Regions from separate parts of the Homo sapiens genome. Here regions 1, 2, 3 and 4 are each linked to region 5. Evidence: promoter capture Hi-C in human tissues and cell types (Jung and others, 2019). All regions are on one chromosome and are shown on one strand. Each heading gives the region's core, a stretch centred on a gene start or on the middle of the fragment in contact. The rest is flanking DNA. Distances are from core to core; before and after follow the strand shown.

Evidence for each region. Contacts are between HindIII fragments. The study calls those that stand out against the background at their distance.
Region 1: a contact is called between a fragment that was not itself captured here and the fragment with the promoter of AP1M1 in region 5, in 6 of the 25 tissues and cell types used here (liver, lymphoblastoid cells, mesendoderm cells and 3 more).
Region 2: a contact is called between a fragment that was not itself captured here and the fragment with the promoter of AP1M1 in region 5, in 2 of the 25 tissues and cell types used here (liver and psoas muscle).
Region 3: a contact is called between a fragment that was not itself captured here and the fragment with the promoter of AP1M1 in region 5, in 1 of the 25 tissues and cell types used here (H1 embryonic stem cells).
Region 4: a fragment that was not itself captured here is called in contact with the fragment with the promoter of AP1M1 in region 5 in 8 of the 25 tissues and cell types used here (dorsolateral prefrontal cortex, liver, lymphoblastoid cells and 5 more).

Annotation. Positions count from the first base shown.
Region 1 is chr19:16,002,572-16,005,271 of GRCh38, forward strand. No RefSeq gene overlaps it. Among named protein-coding and RNA genes, the nearest start is that of LINC00661, 12 kb to the right of the region's middle. The HindIII fragment of the contact is 7,158 bases long and covers 1-2,700 here.
Region 2 is chr19:15,943,322-15,946,021 of GRCh38, forward strand. No RefSeq gene overlaps it. Among named protein-coding and RNA genes, the nearest start is that of OR10H4, 4.3 kb to the right of the region's middle. The HindIII fragment of the contact is 5,665 bases long and covers 1-2,700 here.
Region 3 is chr19:16,326,210-16,328,909 of GRCh38, forward strand. It overlaps KLF2 (KLF transcription factor 2), which reads left to right. Exons shown (of 3, transcript NM_016270.4): 3 at 647-2,476. The coding sequence ends at 822. Among named protein-coding and RNA genes, the nearest start is that of KLF2, 2.7 kb to the left of the region's middle. The HindIII fragment of the contact is 3,241 bases long and covers 1-2,700 here.
Region 4 is chr19:16,060,709-16,063,408 of GRCh38, forward strand. No RefSeq gene overlaps it. Among named protein-coding and RNA genes, the nearest start is that of LINC01855, 3.6 kb to the right of the region's middle. The HindIII fragment of the contact is 9,039 bases long and covers 1-2,700 here.
Region 5 is chr19:16,196,593-16,199,292 of GRCh38, forward strand. It overlaps AP1M1 (adaptor related protein complex 1 subunit mu 1), which reads left to right and starts at 1,319. Exons shown (of 12, transcript NM_032493.4): 1 at 1,319-1,476. The coding sequence starts at 1,435. RefSeq lists a silencer at 1,463-1,702. The HindIII fragment of the contact is 7,648 bases long and covers 1-2,700 here.

The sequences.
Region 1 (2,700 bases), core at 86-2,585, 190 kb before region 5:
TCTTGCACACTCACTCTTCCTCTTGTTTCGGCTGAATATACCATCTCCTATTACAGGAGTTTTCAGATGCTGCTTGGCTTCGGAGAGTTCCTTATTCCTGCTACAACTGCTGCAGTCGTAGGGCAGCTCCTATTAGCCATATGCAGATCACCGCTAGTCTTAGTCGGCCCCACACTTTGCTCAGAACACACAGTCCAGGCTAAGAGATCTGTGACTCCCCACTTTGCAACTGATGAACCTAATTAGGCCCCTCCATTCACACACTTTCACACACTTCCCCACTCCCAGTTCCCATGTTCTTAATTGGGGTGGTGAGCCACTCTCACTACCTCCAGTTTCCTTTTCCTAACCAACTTAGTGAGCCACTCTTGCATCCTATGTCAGTTGGGGTGTAAGTTTCATCTGAATTGGCGAGCCATTCTCACCACCCCCAGCCCTTCTGGGTTGGATTAATAGTCACATCCCAGGAGGTGATCAGGCTCCCCTTCCATCCTTATGGGGTGGGTCCTGCCTTGGGCCCCAAAACCTTACTGCAGTCCTGAAGGAAGCACGCTGCTCCTGGAATCATCCCATAGCCCCTCAGGTTCCACTGTGCTGCTGGGTAGGGGCACCAGGTCATGAGAGACCCGATCTCCCCTCCGGGCTGAAGTTCTCTGGGCAGTGCCTGGGGTCACAGGTCTCCCCTGGCCCAGGGCTCCTCCAGCCCCCACAGGCAAAGGAGACAGTAAGCCTGTTGTCTCCACTCCTGGCTGGCTCTTCAGAAATGTTGTGGGAAACTGAGGAACAGAGACCGATATGGGAGAACAGGAGGATATTTATTTTAAGGTATGCACCAGTTCAGTGGATTCACATCCAAAAAGCTGAGCGTTGGACAAAAACAAAAGTTAACTTATATAGGCTAGCATACAAGAGCAAAACAAAGACAATAAATTTTACAGTGACAAGCCACATAATCTATAGTGTAACTGCTAACTTGGCATAACTTGTGGCCTTGTATATGCAGCGCATCAGAAAAAAATTAAAACAGGAACTTTGCAAATCTTACTAAATACAAGCATTGGCAAACATAGTCATAACTAATAGTTCAGTACAGGAGAGACATTGAAGGAATTTGTTGTTCTTTTAACCTTTCTCAGGAGTGTCTGCAGCTCATTTCTGCAGGCCAGGTCGCCATGACCTGTCTATAGCCTTGCCTGCAGCAGAGGAAAACTTGTGTTTTTCAAATAACCCTTATTTCTTCTGGAGTGAATAAATGCAGTGTTTATTTTTCTTTAATTTCTGCCTTAACACTGCCCAAAGCAATTTATAGATTCAATGCTATTCCTATTAAACTACCAGTGAGATTATTTACAGAACTAGAAAAAAAACAGTTTTAAAATTCCTATAGAACCAAAAGTGAGCTTGAATAGCTAAGGCAGTCCTAAGCAAAAAAGGTAAAGCTAGAGACATCATGTTACCTGACTTCAAACTGTACTACAGGGCTACAGTAGCCAAAACAGCATGGTACTGGTACAAAAACAGACACATAGACCAATGGAACAGAATAGAGAGCCCAGAAATAAGGCTGCACACCTACAACCATCTGATCTTTGACAAATCTGACACACAAAAAAACTAACAATGGAAAAAGGATTCCCTATTCAGTAGATGGTGCTGGGATAACTGGCTAGCCATACGCAGAAGATTGAAACTGAATCCCTTCCTTATACCACATACAAAAGTTAACTCAAAATGGATTAAAGACTTAAATGAAAAACCCAAAACTATGAAAACTCTGGAAGACAACCTAGGCAATACCATTCAGGACATAGACATGGTCAAATATTTCATGACAAAGAAGCCAAAAGCAACTGCAACAAAAGCAAAAATTGACACATGGGATCTAATTAAACTAAAAAGCTTTTAAACAGCAAAGGAAACTATCAACAGAGTGAACAGACAACCTACAGAATGGGAAAAAATTTTGCTAACTGTGCATCTGACAAAGGTCTAATATCTAGAATCTATAAGAAACTTAAACAAATGTACAACAGAAAAATAAACAACTCCATTAAAAAGTGGGCAAAGGACATGAACAGACACTTTTCAAAAGCAGGCATACATGCAGCCAACAAGCATATAATAGAAAGCTCAACATCGCTGATCATTAGAGAAATGCTTATCAAAACCACAATGAGATACCGTCTAACACCAATCAGAATGGCTGTTAAAAACGTCAAAAAAAAAAAAAAACATGCTGATGAGGTTGCAGAGAAAAAGGTACACTGATACGTTGTTGTTGGGAGTGTAAATTAGCTCAATCAGTGTGGAAAGCAGTGTGGTTATCCCTCAAGGAGCTAAAAACAGAACCACCATTTGACCCAGCAATCCCATTACTGGGTATATACCCAAAGGAATAGAAATTGTTCTATTTTTAAAAGACACATGCACACCTCTGTTCACTGCAACACTATTCACAATAGCAAAGATATGGAATCAACCTAAATGCCCGTCAATGATACACTGGATAAAGAAACTGTAGTACATATACACCATGGAATACTATGCAGCCATAAAAAAGAACGAGATTATGTCCTTTACAGGTGTGAGCCACCGTGCCCAGCCTAACCAAAGGCTCTTTTCTGAGCCATCATTTTCCCTGGCAGGCAGTGGAACTGAGCAGATGGGCCAGTGGCCATAGTGCTGCTGCCTTGTGTGGGA
Region 2 (2,700 bases), core at 168-2,667, 250 kb before region 5:
AAATGAGCAGTTTTTTCACTACAATGAGTAAACAATCTACCTTTTCCTCTTGACTTGTGCCAGTACATTTATCATGTACTATATTAGGTTTTGAATAATGCAGGGATATTTTTTGAGATTTCCAATCAACTTATTCAGATCTATGTCTGTTCCATCTTTCATAATTTTAAAAATGACTATGACGCTATTGTGTGTCTCAGCATGTGGGAGAGAACAGCTCTTCTCTTGTTTCCATTTTTATAATATTAGTATGGTTCGTGCTAACATTTATGTATGTATGTATTTGAGACAGAGTCTTAGTCTGTCACCCAGGCTGGAGTGCAGTGGTGCCGTCTCCACTGATTGCAACCTCCACCTCTTGGTTTCAAGTGATTCTCCTGCCTTAGCCTCCTGAGTAGCTGGGATTACAGGTGCCCAACACCACGCCTGGCTAATTTTTGTATTTTCGGTAGAGACAGGGTTTTGTCTTGTTGGCCAGGCTGGTCTCAAACTCTTGGCCTCCTCAACCTCCCAAAGTGCTGGAATTACAGGTGTAAGCCACCACACTGGCCTGACATTTATTTTTCTGAAGGAATTTTCAAATAGTTTCATTAAATGTATGGTTGATTCACTGGAACTGTAAACACAATTGTATTGAGGTTATAATTTGAGTATGAATTGACATCATTCATACATCAAGCCATACCACCCAAGACTGTAAACTGCTCCCCGTATGTTCAGATAATCTTCTACATGTTTATTAGTATGGATTTAAAATTTTTCTCTTTGAAGGTATGGGATGCTTTGGGTTAATTCCTAGATATTTCATAGTAGAATTTTTCAAAGTATGATATGAGGACCTCTGCAGGGTGATCCCTGAAGTCTTTATTTTTTCTAATTATATATTAGAATATATTTTCATCATATGCCTCAACTAAGACATCATACAGGCTCCCACCACCACACCCGGCTAATTTTTTGTATTTTTTTTTTAGTAGAGACGAGGTTTCACCATGTTATCCAGGATGGTCTTGATCTCCTGACCTCGTGATCTGCCCACCTCAGCCTAGGATTACAGGTGTGAGCCACCGCGCCTGGCACATATTGCCACAGACTGAATAAAGAAAGAAATGTGAGCATCAAGCTGTTTCCTGCCAAGCCAGGACATACGATGTTTTTGCTAAAACGTCAAACAAGGCTACTCTTCTCACGGAATGTTTTTTCTTAATGTGGTTATTTGCCTGAAAATGTTACTTATATTTGTAAGAGTTAAAGAAAGAAGAAAGAAACACGAAACATGGCTTGGCAGTTAAAGACAGGTTTACTTTAGATAAAACCTGAGGGGGGCTTCTGGCCAATTTCAGTCAGGAGAAGTTTCTCTTACACACTAAGAGTACATATTAGTTTTAGGGTGAGGGGCTTATCACAAGCTTGGAATGTTTCTGTGTGGGGGAGAAGTTTTATGGCAGGGTTGGAATGTCTCTGGGAGGAGGGGAGGTTATCTTGGGGCTGACATCTTTCCGGCCGGGTGGGAGTGATCTTGAGGCTGGCATCTTCCCAGCCAGAGGAGGCAAATTTCGGGGCCAGCATGTCTCTCACTGGGGAGGAGTTTGGAATATTTCTGGCTGGAGATGTTATTTATGGTTTATGGTTGTGCTGACCTTAGCCATTAGCCTGACACCCTTTGGATTTAGGCGGTTTTTTATTAAGGGGAATTTTAGAATGAGGGGCTTGTCCAAGATAGTGATGCTCCTGCTCTGTCAATATTAGCATGCAATAGGTTCATTATTGCTCTTTTAAATGTACTAATAACTAATATTTTAAATGATTTTCAATTTTCATTTCCAATATGGTAAAAAACAATGATAGTTCTAAGCCACAATAAACAAAAGCCCTTTAGAGTGCTCAGTAATTTGGGTGTGTAAAGGAATCCTGAGACATGTTTCTTTATATTTTTCTTTATATTTTGTGCATTTGAAATTTTGCTTAGGAAGTCTTTCCTCGTGCCTAGATTACAAAGTTATTATCCTACACTTTCTCCTATTAAATGTAAAGATAATGGCAAAGAGTGCAACTACTTTTGCACCAACCTAATAGTTTGTGTTGCTGTTGGGAATCTTCCCCTTCTCTGTATTCAACTTCTATTTCTTGAATGCTTGTTACTGGTGTGACACTAGGAGGATCACTGGGATTTTTGCCAGCTGACCTTGCCTTCTGCATCACTGGGCTCTGTTATTGTTCCAATAGATTATACCATCATTCTTTTATCTTTTATATGTAGATGATCACGTCTCTTCGCTTCCAGTCCTCAGATACCTTAGATACTTTGTTTCTTTTTCTTGCCTTGTAACATCACTCACGACTTTCAGCTCCATGTTAAAGAACAGCAGAGTTAGTGAGTATCCTTGGCTTTTTCTTGATCCTAAAATAATGCATCAAAAAGTTTCTTCATTTAGTGTATGTAGTATTTGCTAATTTTGTGCTATATATTCTATATTTAGATAAGAAAATCTCCTTGAATTTTGTGTTGTGAAGTGTTCTTTAAAAATCATAAATAGGAGTAGAGTTTAAGAAAAACATATTTATGCCTTTATTGAAATAATCATGATTTTTCTTTTTTAATCAACTCCTGTGATAAATCATATGATAGGTTTTCTGATGTTAGCCATCCTTGTCATTTGTGAAATAAATCTATACCACTTTATTATGGTAAACCATTTT
Region 3 (2,700 bases), core at 121-2,620, 130 kb after region 5:
GGGGCACACAGGAACACTCCCTAAGGAAGTGTGATCCGAGAGGTTGGGGTGGGGGCTTGCACGCTTAGGACGAGGGGGGCCTCCGGAGGTTGGGAAGAGCACTTAGAAAACCTCCTGGAGGCGTGGCTAGGGAGACAGTCTCAGAAAGTTGGGGAGGGGGAGCAGGTTTAGGAGCCGCTGGGCACTTGGCTCAGAATCCCCGGGGCTGAGGCTCAGGTAGTTGGGGAGTAGGTGCGCGTTTAGGAACCCCGGGGAGATGCTGCGTCTCAGGAAGTTGGGGAGGGCGCTCAGGCTTGGGACTCCTCTGGGGACAAGGCTCAGGACCTTGGGGAGGGAGTGTTCGCTGGGAAACCTTGAGAGATTCCGTGTCTTAGAATGCTGGAGAGAGGGTGCATGCTTAGGACCCGTCGGGGAGCGTGGCTGACAACAGTGGGGAGTGGACCTTGCGCTCCTCCGACCCCCTGGGGGTGAGGATCCGGATTGTGGGGGGAGTTGGGGATGTAGGGCAAGGATCCCTCAGGGGCGCAACACTACCGCGGGGAGCGCGTCAAGGCCCTGGTTAGGGATAGGTTGCGCTCGCCGGGGTAGCCATACGTGCCCTGTCCTGGGAGGGGAACTGACGCTTACTCTCGCCCCCTCCCTGCAGGTGAGAAGCCCTACCACTGCAACTGGGACGGCTGCGGCTGGAAGTTTGCGCGCTCAGACGAGCTCACGCGCCACTACCGAAAGCACACGGGCCACCGGCCATTCCAGTGCCATCTGTGCGATCGTGCCTTCTCGCGCTCCGATCACCTGGCGCTGCACATGAAACGGCACATGTAGCCGGGACGCCCCCGCCCACCTGCGCGCGGCCGTGGCGGGTCCCACGCGCCGGGCGCGGCCCCCTCCCAAACTGTGACTGGTATTTATTGGACCCAGAGAACCGGGCCGGGCACAGCGTGGCTACAGAGGGTCTCCCTCGATGACGACGACGACGACGCCACCACCCCAGCCCCCGTCTGTGACTGAAGGCCCGGTGGGAAAAGACCACGATCCTCCTTGACGAGTTTTGTTTTTCAAAATGGTGCAATAATTTAAGTGGCATCTTCTCTCCCACCGGGTCTACACTAGAGGATCGAGGCTTGTGATGCCTTGTGAGAAATAAGGGCCTTAATTTGTACTGTCTGCGGCATTTTTTATAATATTGTATATAGTGACTGACAAATATTGTATTACTGTACATAGAGAGACAGGTGGGCATTTTTGGGCTACCTGGTTCGTTTTTATAAGATTTTGCTGGGTTGGTTTTTTTTTTAATTAAAAAGTTTTGCATCTTTTAAAAAAAATCACAGCACTGGTCTGGTTGCTTGGAACTGGGGCCTTGGGGCACTTGGGAGGAGGGGGGAGCGGAGAGTTTGATGGAGGGCAGCCCCACTAAAGCATCGTGTGCAGTGGGTCCTGCGTCTGCCAGCACCGGGACTGCCAGCTGCTGTGCCTGCCTGCCAGGAACCTGTGGGTTTTTCTGTAAATTTAGACACTGCATTTTAGGACTGAGGGAGGGTTATTTTAAGGTTGTTCTTTGAGCCATAAATTGCCTCTTTGCCCCACAGCTGGGGAAAGTGCTGGTCCCACTGACGTGGCCTCCTCTACGTTGAAAAAAATAAAACTACTTACCTCTTCCTGGAAGCCTCTGAGGTTTTAGCCAAATTTCTGGAGTGCCAGCTCTATATTTTTATTTTTATTTTTAAAGGGGGTTAACCTGCTGAGTTTCTGGCATGTTCTGCCCTTTACTCGTCTCGACATTTAGCAAGTCTTTTCTTAAGGGGTGAGTTCCCCATTCTGCTAGCGGAAAACAGTGAAACCTGCATTCGAGGGCCATGCATGAAGCTCTTTTCCAGATGAGGAAACGGAGGCCCGGAGAGGTAGCGGCAGGGTGGTGGAGTTGGGTTGTTAGCCTGCTCTGTCTGCCTCCAAGGGTCCCTGAACCCCACTGGAAGGGAGTGGTAGCTTTCTACAATGACCCACCTGTTGTGTGCATTGGAAGGCTAGGAGAGCCTCCTCCCCTGTAGGTCTCCTGGTGCAAAAAATTCACTGCCTCAATGGTAGGAGGTGACCAGTCTGGAAACCCACCTGGAGAGCAGAGGAGACCCCTAAATCCCACCACCCCAAGTGTCTCAGGCAAGGAGGTATCTCTCCCCCCAGATTTCACCTGCCACCCCTCACCTTCCCCATTCTCAGGGGCCCCGGGTAACCATGACCACCAACCATTGCACAAGTTTCCAGAAAGTGAAAATAGCTCGTAAGCAGCGCCTGCTTTAAAACACTCTCACCCCGTTGCGACAGAGGCTGGGATTTCCTCCCTCCCTGCATCCTTCCTCCTCCCCAACTACGGCAGCCCTGGAAACAGCTGAGAGGTGTTTGGTAATCCACGAAAAGCAGAAATACGATTTGACAATCTGATTCATTTTCCGAGAGTAAATAGCCTGGCCTCACTTCCGCTGCTGATGAAGGGTGTGAATGTTTTTGAGCCTCCTGTACCCTCTGCGTGCAGCTTCTGCAAAAACCGTCCCAAGACAGAATGTTGGCCCCTCGACCTGGGGAGATGATCCCCCTTTTTAAAAGCTGGCCTCTGCAGTGCAGGGGCAGAAGAAGGACTCGCGGGTGGTTTAAAACAATATTAAGGGTCTCCAGGTTTCCCTGTTCAGCTTAAACTTAGTGATC
Region 4 (2,700 bases), core at 154-2,653, 140 kb before region 5:
AATAAAAGCTGTCTGAGCCCCTGATTTTGGGGTGTACAGAAATGCAAGAGACCCGTGGAGAATTGTTCTCCAATGACACCATTGACACCTAATGGGCAGTGGCTGTCCATGAAGGTAACTCAGGTAGGAGGTTGAATAGGGGAGGCTGCTCAGGTTATAGTTTGTGGGTCAATGTGTAGAATCCGGAGTCAGCCACTCTTGGTTCAACTCCCAACACCACCACTTCTTAGCTGTGCTGGCTTGAGCAAGTTACTTCACCTCTCTGTGCCTCAATTTCTCCTTTTATAAAATGGAAATGACAGCAGCACTTATCTCACGAGGTTATTGTGAAAATTAAGTGAGCTGATGTGTGCAAGGCACGTAGAACAGCATGGACACATTAAAGACATGTCAGTGTTAACTATAATTATTATTAATTATCGTGACGATGCCACCAAGCTTGTGGTCATGCCTGTTTTACGGGATTAATGGCCAAGCTCTCTAACCCACACAGTTCCCTCGGAGTGTGGCTCAGAGACTTTGGGGAGGACTTAGAGCCCTTTTCTCCTTGCCCGCCCCACCAATGGTTTGCCCCTTCCCGGATAATTTTTTTTTTTTTTAAACAGGATCTTGCTCTGTAGCCCAGGCAGGAGTGCAGTGGTGCAATCTCAGCTCATTGCAACCTCTACCTCCCGGGTTCAAGCAATACTTGTCAGCTTCCCAAGTACCTGGGATTACAGGTGTGCATCACCTATGCCCGGCTAATTTTTTTGTATTTTTAGTAGGGACGGGATGTCACCATGTTGGCCAGGCTGGTCTCGAACTTCTAGCCTCAAGGGATCCAACCCCTTGGCCTCTCAAAGTACCAGGATTACAGGTGTGAGCCACTACACCTGGTCTAGAAACTCTTTTTTTATTAAGAGATAGAGTCTCACTCTGTTGCCCAGGCTGGAGTGCAGTGGTACCAGCATGGCTCACTGCAGACTCAAACTCCTGGGCTCAAGTGATCCTCCTGCCTCAGCCTCTGGAGTAGCTGGGACTACAGATGCATGCCACCACACCCAGCTAATTTTTAAATTTTTTGTAGAGATGGGGTATCGCTCTGTTGCTCAGGATGATCTTGAACTCCTGGGCTCAAGCAATTCTCCCACCTTTGCCTCCCAAAGTGCTGCGACTACAGGCGTGAGCCACTGCACCCAGCTTCAGGGTCATTTTTATTGTCATCCTTGTCATCTTATTACTCTATTGTACCCCATGAAATGAAACTCCATAGAGTGCAAGCTGAGAACATTTTTGCTCTTTTCTATTGGAACTCAGTAAACTCACCTGTTGCCTTGGTCTCTTTGCATGTCTCAAACTGCAGGAGACACATTTGGGGGCAGTCCCCATCCTCTCTTCTGTTGTTTGATCTCTGCAGCCTCACCACCCACCACACCACACCACACCACATCCTCACCTCTGCATTCAACGGCAGACACTCTCACCTGCCCTCAGTCCCTTCCTCCTATGACCTTCGCATAGACCCCATCACCACCGTTCAGGCCTCCCTCAATTGCCACTTCCTCAGGGAGGCTTTTTCCTGACTTCCACCCAAGACTAATCAGGTGCCTGCATTTTGCATGCATTAACATTTTTAGGCTGGGCGTGGTGACTCATGCCTGTAATCCCAGCACTCTGGGAGGCCGAGGTGGGCAGACCACCTGAGGTCAGGAGTTCGAGACCAGCCTGGCCAACATGGTGAAACCCTGTCTTTGCAAAAATACAAAAAGTAGCCAGGTGTGGTGGTGCATGCCTGTAATCCCAGCTACTTGGGAGGCTGAGGCACGAGAATTGCTTGAACCTGGGAGGCGGAGGTTGCAGTGAGCCGAGATCGTGCCACTGCACTCCAGCCTGGGAGTGCAGGACAGAGCAAGACTATCTCAAAAAAAAAAAAAAATTTAGCTCACACTCTGGGTGCCTGCCCAGATCCACTGGGTTCCTACTGTTTCTCTCCACACCAAGGGGTACTTCTAGCAGCTTCATCTCTCTGCTAGGGGGAGAGGCGGTCTTCCTCCAGCTGCTGAAGTGAGTGTGACCCATACAAGGGCAGATCAGCACAATCAACAGCCCCTAAGAGCAGCCTTCAATCAACAGCAGCATGGAATTGGTGGATAAATACCCCAGCTCCTTCGCCCCTCAGCTGGGACAACTCCAAAGAGCATGCTCTCTGCTGCCTCCAGAGGCCCTCAGTGGGACTGCACCCTATTTGTCCATGGCAGTAACTGGTTTCATAATGCATGCTTAATGGTTACTTTCTTTTCCCTATTTCACTTCCCATCCTCTACTTGTATCTCCTTGGGTCACTTCCCAAATAAACTATTTGTCCTTGCATTTTTTAAGAGATGGGGTATCTGATGCCCAGGCTGAAGTGCAGTGGTGCAATAATAGCTCACGGCAGGCCAGGCACAGGGGCTCATGCCTGTAATCCCAATAGTTTGGGAGGCCAAGGCAGGAAGATCACTTGAACCCAGGAGTTCAAGACCAGCCTGGGCAACATAGCAAGACGCCACCTCTACAAAAACAAAAAAGTATCCAGGCATAGTGGCACATGCCCGTAGTCCTAGCTACTCAGCGGGCTGAGGTGGGAGGATCAATTGAAGCTGGGGGATCTAGGCTGTAGTGAGCCACGATTGTGCCACTGCACTCCAGCCTGGGCAACAGAGTGAGACCTTGTCTCGAGAA
Region 5 (2,700 bases), core at 69-2,568:
AACTCTGGGTGGGCTTTTGTTACATCCCAGCCTTTGTATAAGGGCACTGGCTCTCTTATCTTTTAATATTTAACTTAACCCTTGTAATCCCAGCACTTTGGGAGGCCGAGGTGGGTGGATCACGTGAGGTCAGGAGTTTGAGACAAGCCTGGCCAACATGGTGAAACCACGTCTCTACTAAAAATACAAAAATTAGCTAGGTGTGGTGGCACATGCCTGTAATCCCAGCCACTTGAGAGGCTGACACACAAGAGAATCACTTGAACCCAGGAGGCAGAGGTTGCAGTGAGCCGAGATCATGCCATTGCACTCCAGCCTGGGTGACAGAGTGAGACTCCATCTCAAAAAAAAAAAAAAAAAAAAAAGCAAACAACAAAAACCCTCTCTTGGCTGCTTGCTCTGTGCCTTGAGCAAGAATCCTTCCAGCCCAGGAGTCACTTAGCAGTCTTCAAACATTCTAGTTTGCTTCTCTAGAGTTTCGGTCACATTTCTTTCCTAAGCAAAACACTATATAATTACCGAGTTGCAAAAATCATCTTTCCAAACGCCAAAACGGAGATAAGACAGAAAATAAAAGATGTGAGAGGCAGGCATCCTGGGTAAATCACTCTGGTATTGCAGGGTTGGGATCCCCAGGGTACTATGATGGCTAACTGGAACAGAATGCAGGCATTTCTCCAAAGCCCAAGAGTTCATAAAAGCAAATTAAATATGACTCAATGGATTAATCAAGGGCCACCAGTTGCATTACTGATTACTAACTTTGCAGAAATGAAACACGGTATGTTGGGTCAAGGTTCAGTGAGGCTGGTTTTCATAACATTCCAGGCAATAAACAGGCACACTCATTCATTGATAAATGTTGACAATGACAGGTGGTGACTGTTGATAAGGTTTGATTGCCATTCAGAAAGTTTGTTTGACCTCTTTCCAAGTAACCACGACCTTACCTCTCTCTTTTGAGCTTATCACAATTGGTGACTGTACACTTGTTTCATAGACTTCCCCACCAGACTGTGAGCTCCATAGGGCTGGGCCCCAGGTCGGTTTCACCACCAGGCTCTCTCGCCTAACTCGGCCCACGGGAGGCCGTTTCCAGCTGCTCTGGCTCCATAGCTCAGCCTGGCAGCGGCCACTGGGTGCCCTGATTTGGTCGGCCCCGCCCCACCGGGCCTTACTTCCGGGATGCTTCTGGCGGGAGCAAGAAACATGGTTACATACGACGTAATGCGCCTGCGCACAGTCCGTCCTGCGCCTGCGCATTCCTGACAGCACCTCCCGGACCGGACATAACGGTCCCCGCGCGGCTCCCCGAACCGGAAGTGGAGGTGAGCTGTCGCGGGCGGCGCCCGGCCTTGCTCAACGCCCAGCAGTCCCCACCGTCGCTGCCGCCGCCACCGCCCTCGGCCGCTGCCGAGGCCTCCTGCAGCCATCATGTCCGCCAGCGCCGTCTACGTGCTGGACCTGAAGGGCAAGGTACTGAGGGCTCCCCACCCTCCCTGTTGCCAGGCAACCGGCAGGGGCCTCCGCCCGCGGGGACCCACCCTGTTGCTAGGTAACCGGCTTATGAGCCCCATCCTGGTGTGAGGCAGAGAGGCCGGTAGACCTCACCTGAGAGCCCCATCCTGTTTCTGGGTAACCGGGCGGGGGTCTTAAGTGGGTAATCCCCGCCCTGTTGCTACGTAACGCGGTGGGCTGCAGCCACCGCGTTGCCAGGTAACTGACTGCACCGCCCTCTGCTCCCCGGCGCCGGGGCCGGGGGCTCGGGCCTCGGTGGAGGACCCAGAAGCGGGGCCGCAGCCGGCCTCGGAGCCAGGCAGGGCGTCCAGGGGCTGCGCGACCCTTGGCCGGGGGTGGCGAGGCGTGGCGGGGACTGGGTGCTCTCGAGCCAGTCCCGCCTTCTCAGGGCGTTACAGCTTCTGTTTATCGTGCACTTTCTCTCAGTAGGAATTTCTCCACGTTCATTGTGATAGTGAGTTACAAGGATTAGGTGAGGTGAGTGGTGATCACGAGTGCCGTTTTATAGAGGGAGAAACTGAGGCATGGAGAGGTGAAGCAACCTGACCAAGGTCACAATGGTCACAGAGAAGTAGCAAGTCTAGGAGTCCGATCCAGAATCATTCGTTTATTCAGCTGATATCTGGGGAGCACCTACTAATGCCGGGCAGGGTACTAAGCCTGGGGTCGATTTGTGTTTAGCAAAAAACAGTCCCTTTTTTTTTGTTTTGTTTTTGAGATAGTGTCATGCTCAGTCGTCCAGTCTGGAGTGTAGTGGTGCAATCTCCACTCACTGCAACCTCCGCCTCCCGGGTTCAAGCAATTTTCCTGCCTCAGCCTCCCAAGTAGCTGGGATTACAGGCACCTGCCACTACGCCGAGCTAAATTTTGTATTTTTAGTAGAGGCAGGGTTTCACCATGTTGACCAGGCTGGTCTCGAACTCTTGACCTCGAGTGATCCACCTGTCTTAGCCTCCCAAAGTGCTGGGATTACAGGTGTGAGTCATGTGCCAGGGCTCAACAATCTGTGTTCTTACGGTGTTCACAGGCTGGTAGGGGAGATGGATACCCATCTCCAAAAACACAAATAAATGTCAATTGCAGTGGTGTTGAGGGGCGAGTGTGTTATACAGACAGTCAGCCTCAGCCCGAGGATGAGAGAGGGTTTCCCTGAGGAGGGGTGACAAATGGACCAGAGACACC